3 separate regions of the Homo sapiens genome follow, and all the other regions are linked to region 2. Evidence: promoter capture Hi-C in human tissues and cell types (Jung and others, 2019). All regions are on one chromosome and are shown on one strand. The core of a region is centred on a gene start or on the middle of the fragment in contact, and the rest is flanking DNA. Distances in the headings are between cores, read along the strand shown.

What was found. The method cuts DNA at HindIII sites, captures the fragments that hold promoters and counts their contacts. A contact is called where the count stands out against the background at its distance.
Region 1: a fragment that was not itself captured here is called in contact with the fragment with the promoter of ZNF878 in region 2 in 1 of the 25 tissues and cell types used here (lymphoblastoid cells).
Region 3: a fragment that was not itself captured here is called in contact with the fragment with the promoter of ZNF878 in region 2 in 3 of the 25 tissues and cell types used here (hippocampus, mesenchymal stem cells and stomach).

The regions. Positions count from the first base shown.
Region 1 is chr19:11,687,481-11,692,160 of GRCh38, forward strand. No RefSeq gene overlaps it. Among named protein-coding and RNA genes, the nearest start is that of ZNF823, 49 kb to the right of the region's middle. The HindIII fragment of the contact is 6,716 bases long and covers 1-4,680 here.
Region 2 is chr19:12,051,379-12,055,735 of GRCh38, forward strand. ZNF878 (zinc finger protein 878) reads right to left here and starts at 1,583. Exons shown (of 4, transcript NM_001080404.3): 1 at 1,421-1,583. The coding sequence starts at 1,423. RefSeq lists a silencer at 1,179-1,228 and an enhancer at 1,417-1,922. The HindIII fragment of the contact is 7,236 bases long and covers 1-4,357 here.
Region 3 is chr19:12,314,141-12,318,892 of GRCh38, forward strand. It overlaps ZNF563 (zinc finger protein 563), which reads right to left. Exons shown (of 4, transcript NM_145276.3): 4 at 3,337-4,752. The coding sequence ends at 4,454. Among named protein-coding and RNA genes, the nearest start is that of ZNF563, 17 kb to the right of the region's middle. The HindIII fragment of the contact is 6,161 bases long and covers 1-4,752 here.

The DNA.
Region 1 (4,680 bases), core at 485-2,984, 360 kb before region 2:
AGCTGGCCACTGAAACCAACTTAACCCAAGAGATTTTGGCTAAAATTTAACAGGTTCCTGAGAACCTCTTATAAGTAAATGGCTATAGTTGCCCAACTGGCCACTGCCCTGCCATTAGGATCCCTGCATGGGATGGACCCACAGCAGGTCACTGGTACCATGATAGAACACACACAAAAACTTATGAATGCTGTCTGTGGACGGGTTAGAGTCAGTCCTTCACACTGGCTAACTGGGCCTAAGTTTTAAAAAGAGCTAAGCCGCCACTTGTTAACTAGGGGTCACAAGCACTGTGAGTTTCCTGAAAACCAACACCTTTTTAACTTTGGGGGCTCACCTGAGCTAGTCAATCAGAGCTCAGCTGTATCAACCAATCAGAACTGAGTTTCAAGTTTCAGATCTTCATTTGCATAAAAGCACTTGACTAGGAACCCAGATGGGAACTTTTGCTATAAAACCTAAGCTTTCCCTTGTTCTCTGGAACAAATAATGTTTAGGTTGCAAACTCCTTATGCCTTTTCCCCAGAACTATGTAGAAATAACGCCTTCTAAAATGTGATCTTGATACCAGGGAACTCCTTTTTTTTTTTTTTTTTTTTTTTTTTTTTGAGTCGGAGTCTTGCTCTGTTGCCCAGGCTGGAGTGCAGTGGCGTGATCTCAGCTCACTGCAAGCTCCGCCTCCCAAGTGGCTGAGAGACAGGTGCGCACCACCACGCCCAGCTAATTTTTTGTCATTTAGTAGAGATGGGGTTTCACCCTGTTGGCCAAGATGGTCTCAATCGACCTGACCTTGTGATCTACGTGCCTCGGCCTCCCAAAGTGCTGGGATTACAGGCGTGAGCCACCGCACCTGGCTGATACCAGGGAACTCCCAGAGCAAAGCACTAAATACTTTCATTCCTCTAAGGTCTATGACTCTAATCAGCAGAAAGTAGTTAGAGCAGTTATCATTCCTTTTCCTTCAAGACTTAGGAATGAACATAATAGGAGGGATTTGTAACCACAACAGATTATGTGGTACAACTTCTATATAACAAAGCTGAGTTTTCAGTTGCCATGGACCCAACACTCAAGGTCACATAATCTGAGCATGCCCAGATGAACCAAATGTGTAACCATGGGTGGAACCTATATGCTTGGACTGAGGTGTGGAGATTAAAGTAAAAAGTAGATGCTGGGCACGGTGACTCATGCCTGTAATCCCAGCACTTTGGGAGGCTGAGGTGGGTGGATTGCCTGAGCTCAAGAGTTCAAGACCACCCAGAGCAACATGGTAAAACCCTGTCTCTGTGAAAGATACAAAATATTAACCAGGTGTGGTGGCGCACACCTGTAGTCCCAGCTACTTGGGAGGCTGAGGCAGAATTGCTTGAGCTCCAGAGGTGAAGGTTGCAGTGAGCGAGATCATGCCACTGCATTCCAGCTTGGGCTACAGAGTGAGGCTCTGTCTCAAAAAAAAAAAAAAAAAAAAGATACCACATGGTGGAATCTAGGATCTAATCAGGTTGGGCCCCGGTATCATCCCATGGCAGGATCCAATCGAGTCACATTAACCTGGCATGAGATCATTGCAAGATGCAGTGAGTTCATGTCTTATTACCCCACGCTTATAAAACTTGCCAAAGCCCCCAGCTCAGGGAGACATATTTGAGCATTTCTTCCTTTCTCCTTGCCAGTCAAACTTGTAGTAAAGCTTTTCTTTCTTCAAAAGCTGGTGCCATGCTATTGGCTTGTGTGTACATCTGGAAGTGAGCCAATTCACTACTTGCTAACATAACAAAGAATCAGCAACTGTGAAGATGAAACAATTAAAATTATCCAGTCTGGGCCAGGCGCGGTGGCTCACACCTGTAATCCCAGCACTTTGGGAGGTCCAGGTGGGTGGATCACCTGAGGTCGGGAGTTCGAGACCAGCCTGACCAACATGGAGAAACCCTGTCTCTACTAAAAATACAGAATTAGCTGGGTGTGGTGGTGCATGCCTGTAATCCCAGTTACTTGGGAGGCTGAGGTAGAAGAATAGCTTGAACCAAGGAGGTGGAGGTAGCAGTGAACCGAGATTACGCCATTGCACACCAGCCTGGGCAACGAGAGTGAAACTCCATCTCAAAAAAAAAAAAAAAAAAAAAGAAAGAAAAAAATTACCAGTCTGTGGAAAAGAAAGAGGAAAGAAATTGAGAGAATGTGTTACTAGTATACCTGCCTTGCCAGTCATGTTAAAGTTCTTCAGAGCGAAGGAAACTGATACAGGTTAGGAAAGCAGATGTTTCAGAAATAAAACTTGTTAGAAAATAATTAAATGAGGGCACAAATATGATTATCTTTTCTTCTCCTTCATAGATAAATGTTTGTTCAAATGAATATCAACAATGTATTGGGTGGTTATAGCTTCTAACAGGTCAAATGCGTGACAGTGATATTATATGGGATTGGAAAGAGGAATTCAGAACACTCTTAACATATTGGCACTACCCCAGACACCAGTATAGTGTTATTTGAAAATGAAAGTCCATTAGTTGCAAATGTATACTGCAAACTATGGAATTCACTAATAAAATTTAAGAAACAAGTAGACTTACTACACTAATAGAAGCAAGCAAATGGAATCATATAGAACGCTCAATTAAAAGGCAGAAAAATAGAGCAAGTAGAAAAAAAGCACAAGTACAACAAACAATATATATGAACATATTAATCTATGTCAATTACCACTTTGAATGTGTATTTTTTTTTTTTTTTGAGATGGAGTCTCGCTCCATCGCCCAGGCTGGAGTGCAGTGGTGCCATCTCGGCTCACTGCAAGCTCCGCCTCCCGGGTTCACGCCATTCTCCTGCCTCAGCCTCCCGAGTAGCTGGGACTACAGGTGCCCACCAACACGCCTGGCTAATTTTTTATATTTTTAGTAGAGACGGGGTTTCACCATGCTAGCCAGGATGGTCTCAATCTCCTGACCTCGTGATTCATCTCAGGAAGACAAGATGGGTGGATCACTTGAGCCCAGGAGTTCTCAAGACCAGCTGAGCAACATGGAGAGACCCTGTCTCTACAAAAAATAAATACAAAAATTAGCCAGGCATGGTAGCACACGCCTGTAGTCCCAGATGAGGTGGGAGGATTGCTTGAGTTCGGGAGGCACAGGTTGCTGTGATCACACCACTGCACCCCAGCCTGGGTGCCAGAGACCCTGTCTCGAAAAATAAATAAATAAATAAATAAACCAAAAAACCTGATTTATCTGAATTTAATATAGCCGTTCCATACTTTTGAGTAGGGCTAGAATGGCATATATTTCACCATACCTTTCTATTTAAGGTATCTGTGTCTTTCTGTTGAAAATGGTTATCTTTTACACATTGCTGGGCCTTGTTTTTAATTCTACTCTGCCAGTGCCTGTCTTTTTTACTGGTGTATATAGATAATACACATTCAGGCCGGGCGCGGCGGCTCATGCCTGTAATCCCAGCACTTTGGGAGGCCGAGGTGGGTGGATCAACTGAGATCAAGAGTTTGAGACCAGCCTAACCAACATGGTGAAACCCTGTCTCTACTAAAAATACAAAAATTAGCCGGGTGTGGTGGCATGCACCTGTAGTCCCAGCTACTCAGGAGGCTGAAACAGGAGACCATGGAATATTCACCAAGGCAGACCACATAGCATAAAACATACCTTAACAAATTTAAAAAAATCAAATTCCATAAAATACGAAATCAAACCGTATTAGCATTAAACTAGAGATCAATAGCAGAAGCATAGTTTAAAAGCCTCCAGAAAGTAAAGATTTAAACCACAAACTTCTAAACTATGCAACAGACAGAATTCTCCAGAGATACTTAAATATTCCAAAAATTGAAAAAAACTTTTAGCAAAATTTGTAGAATACAGCAAAGGCAGTGCTTAGAGAGCTATTTAAATAATTAAATGCAAACTCTTGAAAGTAAAGATCTAAAAAACAATGCTGTAAATTCCACCCCAGGAAACTAGAGAAAGAAGAGCACGATAAATGTAAATTAAGGAGAGGAAAACAACGAGAGAAGATATTAATGAAATTGCAAACAGGAAATCAATGGAAAACATCAACAAATCCAAATCCTGGTTTTCTGAAATGAATAAAATTGATAAACACCCATGCTAACTCACAAAAGGGTGGGCATCTCTAAGATTTCCATGAACATTAAAAGAACCATAAAGGAATATTAACTCCATGCCCATAGATCTGATAAATTACAAGATGAGGCCGGGCGCGGGGTGGCTCACGCCTGTAATCTCAGCACCTTGGGAGGCCGAGGCGGGCGGATCACGAGGTCAGGAGATCAAGACCATCCTGGCTAACACAGTGAAACCCTGTCTCTACTAAAAAAAATACAAAAAATTATCCGGGCGTGGTGGCTGGCACCTGTAGTCCCAGCTACTCGGGAGGCTGAGGCAGGAGAATGGCGTGAACCTGGGAGGCGCAGCTTGCAGTGAGCCAAGATGGCGCCACTGCACTCCAGCCTGGGCGACAGAGCGAGACTCCGTCTCAAAAAAAAAAAAAAAGTAAATCTGAGATGAGTTACAGATGTCTTCAAGGTGACAAATCCATGGAGGTGCAGTGCTGACTGAAAACAGACAAGTCTGACTCAAGTATCAGGTCAGGTTCTCCTATCATCTGAGACATACCCCTTCCCATGCTGCTCACTGA
Region 2 (4,357 bases), core at 333-2,832:
CAATTAATTTAGTTGTACTAATTGTTGCGATAATTAAATTTCTTTGTTTTTTGCCTATATAAGAAGGAGCTTAACTTTTTTTTTTTGAGACAGTCTCATTCTTTCACCATGGCTGGAGTGCAGTGGGGCATTCCACTGTAATCCCAGCACTTTGGGAGGCCGAGGAGGGTGGATCACGAGGTCAGGAGTTCGAGACCAGCCTGGCCAATATCATGAAACCCCGTCTCTACTAAAAATACAAAAATTGGCCGGGCGCAGTGGCTCACGCCTGTAATCCCAGTACCTTGGGAGGCCGAAGTGGGCGGATCACAAAGTCAGGAGGAGTTCAAGACCAGCCTGGCCAATATGGTGAAACCCGTTTCTACTAAAAATACAAAAATTAGCCGGGCGTGGTGGCTGGCGCCTGTAGTCCCAGCTACTCGGGAGGCTGAGGCAAGAGAATCGCTTGAACCCGGGAGGCGGAGGTTGCAGTGAGCCGAGATGGCGCCACAGCACTTCAGCCTGGGGCGACGGAGCGAGACTCCGTCTCAAAAATATAAAAATCTGGTAAAATAAAAACAGGTCTTTTGGGGAAGGGGGCGGGGACTGGGATGGAATAACGTGGCAGATAACAGCCCTCCTTCCTACAGCCTCCAAATTTTAGACAAAGCTTTACACACTCTCAACCAACTGCCACCTACAGAATCCCTCCACCACCTGTGCCTTCTAACCCCGCTTCCATGTGTCCCGCCTTTCGGCCAAAGGAACTTACACCTTCCCGGCACTGATTCATCATTTTCCTGCAATTCCTGTCTCCCTGAAATGAATAAAACCAAACTGTCAGGAGCTGCCTCGGGATTGCTTACTCCAGACTTCGCGGGGTTGTGTTTCCCTCAGCCGAGGTCTCTCCTATTCGGCTCAGAATAAACTTATTCTACACGATTTGGGTTTTTCCGTTACCAAACCACAAGCCAGGACTGGGAGTTTCTCATTCATTAATCGCTGTTTGCTAAAATAAACTCTCATTTTTTAACAGTGCCTCAGTTTAATTTTTAACTGGAAAAAAAAAGGAACTGGGGACCCCACAGCCCACAGCTCCTCCCACACGAACCCCACACCCGAGGCAGGATCCCCCATGACCCTTCCATGGTCACCGCACAATCTGGGGAGACGCGGGGCTGCGGGCGCGGAGCTGCTCAGAGAGGGAGCCGGGGCCGGGGCCGCAGTCGCCGCGCAGGGACCGGACAGGACGCCCGGGGTCCCGGCTGCCGGCCCAGCTCCACCCAGCGGCCGAGGGGACCGAGGGCCGAGCTGCGCTAGGGGGACTGTGTCTGGAGCCCAGAGTCGCTGCAGGGGGGCCCGGGCCCCGCCACAGCGGGTTCCTCTCGGTTCCACCCAGTCCCTCCTTTCGCCTTGGGACTCCCCAGCACCGCATGCTCACCATTTCCTGGCTTCCAGGTATTCTGGCGTCCTCTCTAAAGGTCCCGTGAACAGTGCAGGTCACAGCGCAGTCGACAGAGCAACAGCAGCTACGGCGGAAGTAACTGGTCCCTCTCGGAGCAAGAAAGCCCCAGACCTTAACTAGCGCGAGCAGCCCTAGGAGTGAAGAGAGCGGGAATGCAACCTCCCCTTCCCTGGAGGACAGTGGCAGGGCCCCGCCCTAGCGCCCCTGATTGGATAGGGGTCTAGACTCCGCCCCCTTCCCTGAGTGACAGCAGAAGCCCCGGGTAACTGGGCGCTGCAGAGCCGAAGCGACTGGTTCTGGCCACACTTTCCAAGGTCAGCTCCCTCCCTCCCTCCCACCTTTACTTCGAATATTTGCCTTCGGCCAAACTTGCTCCGAACTGCTAGAAGGGACACTGTTGTCTTCCTCACTCCGTGGGCCGTCCCTGCCCCTTCATCCTACACGGGACACAAGTGTGCAGGGAATTCCAGATTCAGTGTCCACAAAATGTGAAAGACATTAAAATATTTTGCCCCAAGATATTGCCCTGCCAAAATATATTTCTTTGACAGTTTTGAAATGGCTGCTGCTTGGCCAGCAAACAAAAGGTGGCCTTGCAAAACTGTCTTTTGAGGGGGAAATTTACATTTGTAGAGAATCTCCGTTAATGAAGCACTGCCAGCTCCCCCGTTCTTTTCCTTTCCCTGATCTAAAAGCTATTGAGAGTTTGACACCTTTAAAATCTGAAGAGAGGTAGCACATGGTGACTCATGTCTATAATCCCACCACATTGGCAAACTGAGGCGGAAGGATCCCTTGAAGCAAGGAGTTTGAGGCCAACATCATCAACACAGCGAGATCCCTGTCTTTCTTTCTTTTTTTTTTTTTTTTTTAGACAGTCTCGATCTGTCGCCCAGGCTGGAGCACAGTGGCACGAGATCTTGGCTCACTGCAACCTCCGCCTCCCAGGTTCAAGCGATTCTCCTGCCCCAGCCTCCCAAATAGCTGGGATTACAGACATGCGCCACCACGCCCCGCTAATTTTGTATTTTTAGTAGAGACGGGGTTTCTCCATGTTGGTCAGGCTGGTCTCGAACTCACGACCTCAGGTGATCCGCCCGCCTCGGCCTCCTAAAGTGCTGGGATTACAGGCGTGAGCCACCTCGCCCGCCGATCCCTGTCTTTATTATTTAAAATTTTTTTAAATGGCCGGGCGCTGGCCGGGCGCAGTGGCTCACGCCTGTAATCCCAGCACTTTGGGAGACCGAGGTGGGCGGATCACGAGGTCAGGAGATCGAGACCATCCTGGCTAATACGGTGAAACCCCGTCTCTACTAAAAATACAAAAAAAAAATTAGCCGGGCGTGGTGGTGGGCGCCTGTAGTCCCAGCTACTCGGGAGGCTGAGGCAGGAGAATGGCGAGAACACGGGAGGTGGAGCTTGTAGTGAGCAGAGATCGCACCACTGTACTCCAGCCTGGGCCACAGAGCAAGACTGTGTCTCAAAAAAACAAAACAAAACAAAACAAAAAACCAGTGGCCGGGCGCAGTGAGACCAGGTCTCTACCAAAAAGATAAGTAAATAGATTAGGGCCAGGCATGGTGGCTCATGCCTGTAATCCCAGCACTTTGGGAGGCCGAGGTGGGTGGATCACTTGAGGTCAGGAGTTTGAGACCAGCCTGGCCAACTTGACGAAATCCCATCTCTACCAAAAATATAAAAATGAGCTGGGTTTGGTGGCACACACCTGTGATCCCAGCTATTCGGGGGGCTGAAGCAGGACAATTGCTTGAACCCAGAAGACGGAGGTTGTAGTGAGCAGAGATTGCACCATTACACTCGAGCCTAGGTGACAGAGTGAGACCTTGTCTCATAAAAAGGAAAAAAGTCTATTCTCTGGGGGAGACATCATCTACGTAACAGTCCACCTCTAGCCAAGCCTCTTCCTTTCTCAGTCTACTAAGCTGTCTTGCTACTAAACCTAATTTACTGACCTCAGGTCGCTATATAATCTTCTCTGTCTTATAGCTGGGTGTGTCTTCATTCTGAAGGTTCCCATGTATACATGTTAAATACATTTGCATGCCTTCTTTTCTATTAATCAATCTGCCTCAGATCAATTAGTTTTCAGCAAACCTTTAGGACACGAAGAGTCTATCACCCCCACAAAGCCATCCCCTTGTCTCAGGGCAGGAGGGGAACAAGGCCATGTATGACTGCTCCAGGAGGGAGAGACAGATCTCCTGCAGTGGGGCAAGAATCGGGATGAGGCATGGCCAAGGTTTCCTCACATACACCCATCTTCTCCTCACAGTGTGGAAACTCCCCCTCCTCTCCACACCTTCATTTTCATTAGCGGGAAACTCTCACCTGGAGTCAGTTTAATCTTATTACCAGAAAGGGGTACCAATCCAGACCCCAAAAGAGAGTTCTTGGACCTCATGTAAGAACAAATTCAGGGTGAGTCCATAAAGTAAAAGCAAGTTTATTACAGAAGTAAAGAAACAAAAGAATGGCTACTCCATAGACAGAGCAGCAGCATGGTCTGCCTGACAATGTATACTTATAGTTATTTCTTGATTATGTGCTAAACAAGGGGTGGATTATTCATGAGTGTTCTGGGAAAGGGGCAGGCAATTCCCAGAACTGAGGGTTCCTACCTCTTGTTATACCACATAGGGTAACGTCTGGATATTGCCATGGTATTTGTAAACTGCCATGGCGCTTGTGGGAGTGTTTGTTAGCATGTTAATGCTTTATAATTAGTGTATAATAAGTAGTGAGGACCACATAAGGTCACTTTCTTTTCTTTTCTTTTTTTTTTTGAGACAGAGTCTCACTCCCTCGCCCAGGCTGGAGTGCAGCAGCGCAATCATAGCTCGCTGCAGCCTCTCTGCCTTCCTGCAGCCCCTGCCTCCCAGGCTCAAGCAATCC
Region 3 (4,752 bases), core at 763-3,262, 260 kb after region 2:
GTTCGAGACCAACCTGACCAATATGGAGAAACCCTGTCTCTACTAAAAATACAAAATTAGCTGGGTGTGGTGGCACATGCCTGTAATCCCAGCTACTCAGGAGGCTGAGGAAGAAGAAATCACTTGAACCTGGGAGGCAGAGATTGTGGTGAGCCAAGATAGCGCCATTGCACTCCAGCCTGGGCAACAAGAGCAAAACTCCATCTCAAAAAAAAAAAAAAAGATCTACAGGAAGGAGTTTCAGGCCAGCAAGGTCTGGCTTAGCTAGCTACACAATGCATTAGAGCTTCAAGAACTTGAAGAACATGGGAGAATTGGCCTTGGCTGATGCAAAGGAAACATCAGCATTCCTAGAAAAGCTCATGAAACTCATTAAAAAAAAAAAAAAAAAAGAGGCTAACTTCCAGAGCAAATCCTCCATTGTAATGAATCAGGCATGTTCTGGAAGAGGATGCCCAATTGTACCTTCATCACAAGAGTACAAAGAAAGCCTTGGGGTTCATGACTTGGAAAGATTGCCTTACTCTGGTGCTACGTGGCAATGCAGCAGGTCATAAGATCAAACAAAGCCTCCTCTACTAAGTAAACAATCCGTGGGTCCTTGAAAACAAAAGCGAAACTTGCCTGCCCGTGTCCTGACAAAAACACACGAGGACTTGGTTCTACCACTGCTTCATTCCTGATGTGAATGAATACCTTGAAAAGAAGGGGCTGCCACTCAAGGCCCTCCTCATAACTGACAACGCTCCTGGCATCTCTCTTCTCTCTGTTATGCCGATAAAAATGGGGAAGTGATGTTCCTGCCTCCTAAAACTACATCACTGCTACAACTACTTGATCAAAGCATCATCAAGTGCCTCAAGGTGTCTTACACCCACTGGACTTTTGGAAGGATTTATGCTGTCTTGATAATAACCCTCACCATGTCATACAGGATTTATGGAAGAGCTTCCCAACTGCAGAAACGATTGTGTTTATTGCGGAGGCTGTAAATGCCCTACAGCTCAAGACAGCCAAAGTGTGTTGGAAGCCATTATGGAGTGAGGAAGTCAATGATTTCAGGCGCTTCTGCACTATCGATATGATAGTCAGAAATATCTTAAATGTAAGGAAAGTTGGTGGGGAAGGCTATCTCTGACACAAGTGAAGACAATGTTGAGGAACACACAGAAGAGCAAAGAAGAAACCTTTACTAACAAGGAACTAGAAGATATGCTGAAATCCTCTATAGATGATGATGATGATGATGTAGATTTAGAAGAGGCAGTGCCGCCAGGCGTGGTGGCTCACGCCTGTAATCCCAACAGTTTGGGAGGCCGAAGCGGGTGAATCACCTGAGGTCACGAGTTTAAGACCAGCCTGGCCAACATGGTGAAACCCCGTCTCTACTAAAAATACAAAAATTAGCTGGGTGTGGTGGCGGGCACCTGTAATCCCAGCTACTTGGGAGGCTGAGGCATGAGAATCGCTTGAACCCAGGAGGCAGTGTTTGCAGTGAGCCGAGATCGTGCCACTGCACTCCAGCCTGGGTGACAGAGTGAGACTCAGTCTCAATAAATAAATAAAGAGGCAGTGCCATAAGTGGTGGCTCATGCCTGTAATCCCAGCATTCTGAGAGGCCAAGGCAGGCAGATCACTTGAAGTCACAGGGAGTTCAAAACCAGCTTGGCAAACATGGCGAAACCCTGTCTCTACTAAAAATACAAAAATTAGCTGGGCATGGTGGTGCATGCCTGTATTCCCAGCTACTTGGGTGGCTGAGGCAGGAGGATCACTTGAACTTGGGAGGTGGAGGTTGCAGTGAGCTGAGATTGTAATCCCAGCTCCTCAGGTGGCTGATGCAGGAGGATCACTTGAACCTGGGAGGTGGAGGCTGCAGTGAGCTGAGATTGCACCACTGCACTTCAGCCTCAGCGACAGAGTGAGACTCTGTCTGAAAAAAAAAAAAAGAAGCAGTGCTATAGATTTTGATACTTGAAAAATCTGAAGGCTGGGTGTGGTGGCTCACCCTGTAATCCTAGTAATTTGGGAGGCCAAGGCAGGCAGATCTCTTGATTCCAGGAGTTCAAGACCAGCCTGGGAAACATGGTGAAACCTTGTCTCCACAAAAAACACAAAAAGTAGCCAGGCATCGTGATGTGTGCCTATAATCCCAGCTACTTGGGAGGCTGAGGTGGGAAGATCACTTGAGCCCAGGAAGTTGAGGCTGCAGTGAGCCATGCACTGTAGGGTGACAGAGTGAGATCTTGTCTTAAAAAAAAAAAAAAAGAAAAGAAAAAGAAAAAAAAAGAAAAATTGGAAGCAGTTTTAGGGCACCTACAGCTTCTACAAGGCGCAAGTGTTAAAGATTATCATCCTCAATTAAGATTCTTCCATGGAACAAAGCCTCCATGTCACCCCAGAGATTACATGCTCACAAACGTTGCAAAGTTTAAAAAAAAAAAAACTAGCTTCCTACAATGTTTCTAATTAAATATCTGCAAATATGAAGACAGCCTTCAATGCTTAAAGATCTTCAGTCCTCAAATTGAACAGATTCTGACATTAGTATTATTTAGACTGCTCCAAAAATTCAGTATCTGCAGTCAGAATCTGTTTCTTCCAATATAGTTGATCATGTTGACATCCTGTCAAGATTCGAGTTAGCCTGAGGTCTCACTGCTTATCTGTGGTGTCACACATCTAGCTGACTCAACACATCACAACATTAGGCACGATATTGCAATAATCATCATTACACTTTTGTTGGGTGAATGTTAACACATTTTCAGGTCATTAAACAAAAGCAATCTATGAGTGTTGAAAGAAAAGATTTATAATGCTCTAGGTGACATGTATTATGTGGGTGGGTCTGTACTGAATATGTGTAGGGTCTTTCTCATATCATGATTCACTAAACAATATAATAACAACTATTTACATAGCTTCTATGATGCATGATGTATTTTAACTAATCTACAGATGATTTAGAGTATACAGGAGGATGTGGGTAGGTTACATGCAAATATTTTTTATTGTTATTATTTTTTTGAGACAGGGTCTCATTCTGTTGCCCATGCTAGAATGCAGTGATGTGATTTTGACTCACCGCAACCTCAACCTCCCAGGCTCAAGCGATCCTCCCACCTCAGCTTCCCTAGTAGCTGGGACTACAGGTACATGTCACCACACCTGGCTAATTTGTGTATCTTCTGTAGAGACAGGGTTTTGCCACATTACCCAGGCTGGCCTCTAACTCCTGGGCTCAAGTGATCCACCTGTCTTGGGCTCCTAAGGTGCTAGGATTACAGAGGTGAGCAACTGTGTCTAACCCAAATATGTCTTTTCTTTCTTTCCTTTTTTTTTTTTTTTGTGTGTGTGACAGAGGTTGTTTTGCTCTTGCTGCCCAGGCTGGAGTGCAGTGGCGCGATCTTGGCTCACCGCAACCTCCGCCTCCCGGATTCAAGTGATTATCCTGCCTCAGCCTCCTGAGTAGCTGGGATTACAGGCATGTGCCATCACATCCGGGTAATTTTGTACCAAATATGTCATTTTTAAAAAAGGACTTGGCATGTGTCGATTTATGTATGCCCAGGGGGTGGTAGAACCACGCTCCTGCAAATATTAGGGGATAACTGTATTTGAAAGAAACTGAGGCTTAAAATTAAGGCTTTACTATGTGTTTACATTCATAGGGTTTATCTCCAATGAGAATTATTTCTATCTGAAATGAAATAACATTAAAGAATACTTCCCTACATTTCACACATTTATAGAGTATCTCTCCAGTGAGTCCTTTTATGTCTATGCAAGGACCTGAGAGAACTCAATGCTTTTCTACATTTCTTACATTCATATGACTTCTCTCCAGAGTGAATCCTTTCATGTACTTTTTTTTTTTTTTTGAGACAGGGTCTGGCTCTGTCGCCCAGGCTGGGGTGCAGTGCATCTTGGCTCACTGCAACCCCCACCCCTTGGGCTCAAGAGATCTTCCCACCTCAGCCTCCCAAGTAGCTGGGACTACAGGGGCATACCACCACACCTGCTACTTTTTCTATTTTTTGTAGAGACATGGTTTCACCATTTTGCCCAGGCAGGCCTCAAATTCCTGAGGTCAAGCAATTTGCCCACCCTAAGTGCTGGGATTACAGGCGTGAGCCACTGTGCCCAGCCTCATGTACTTTTAAGTTACCAAAATGACTGAAGGCTTCCCTACATATTTTACACTCACAGAGTTTTTCTGCTCTGTGAGTTGTTTTATGTTGACAATGGTGTTAAAAAAAAATCGATCACTTTCCCACATTCCTTATATCATACAGCATCTCTCCAGTGTGAGATATTTCATGATTTTGAAAGGAATAAAAATTATGAAAGGCTTTCCCACATTTACATTTATAGGGTTTCTGTCCAGTGTAAGTTTATTCATGATATCAAAGGGAACTGGAAATATAGAAGGCTTTATAATAGTTTACATTCATATTGTTTCTCTCCAGTGAGTCTTTTCATGTCTTTGACATACACTGGGATAAACAAAGGCTTTCCCACATACCTTGCATTTATTCGGCCCATCTCCCGTATGCATTACCATATGTCTTCGAAAGCTTGAGCTATGAGATAACGCTTTCCCACACTGCTTGCATTCATAGGGTTTCTCTCCACTGTGAGACTTTTCGTGTCTTTGACATACACTAGGATAAACAAAAGCTTTCCCACATATCTTGCATTTATGAGGTCCACCTCCAGTGTGCATTATCATGTGTCTTCGAAAGCTTG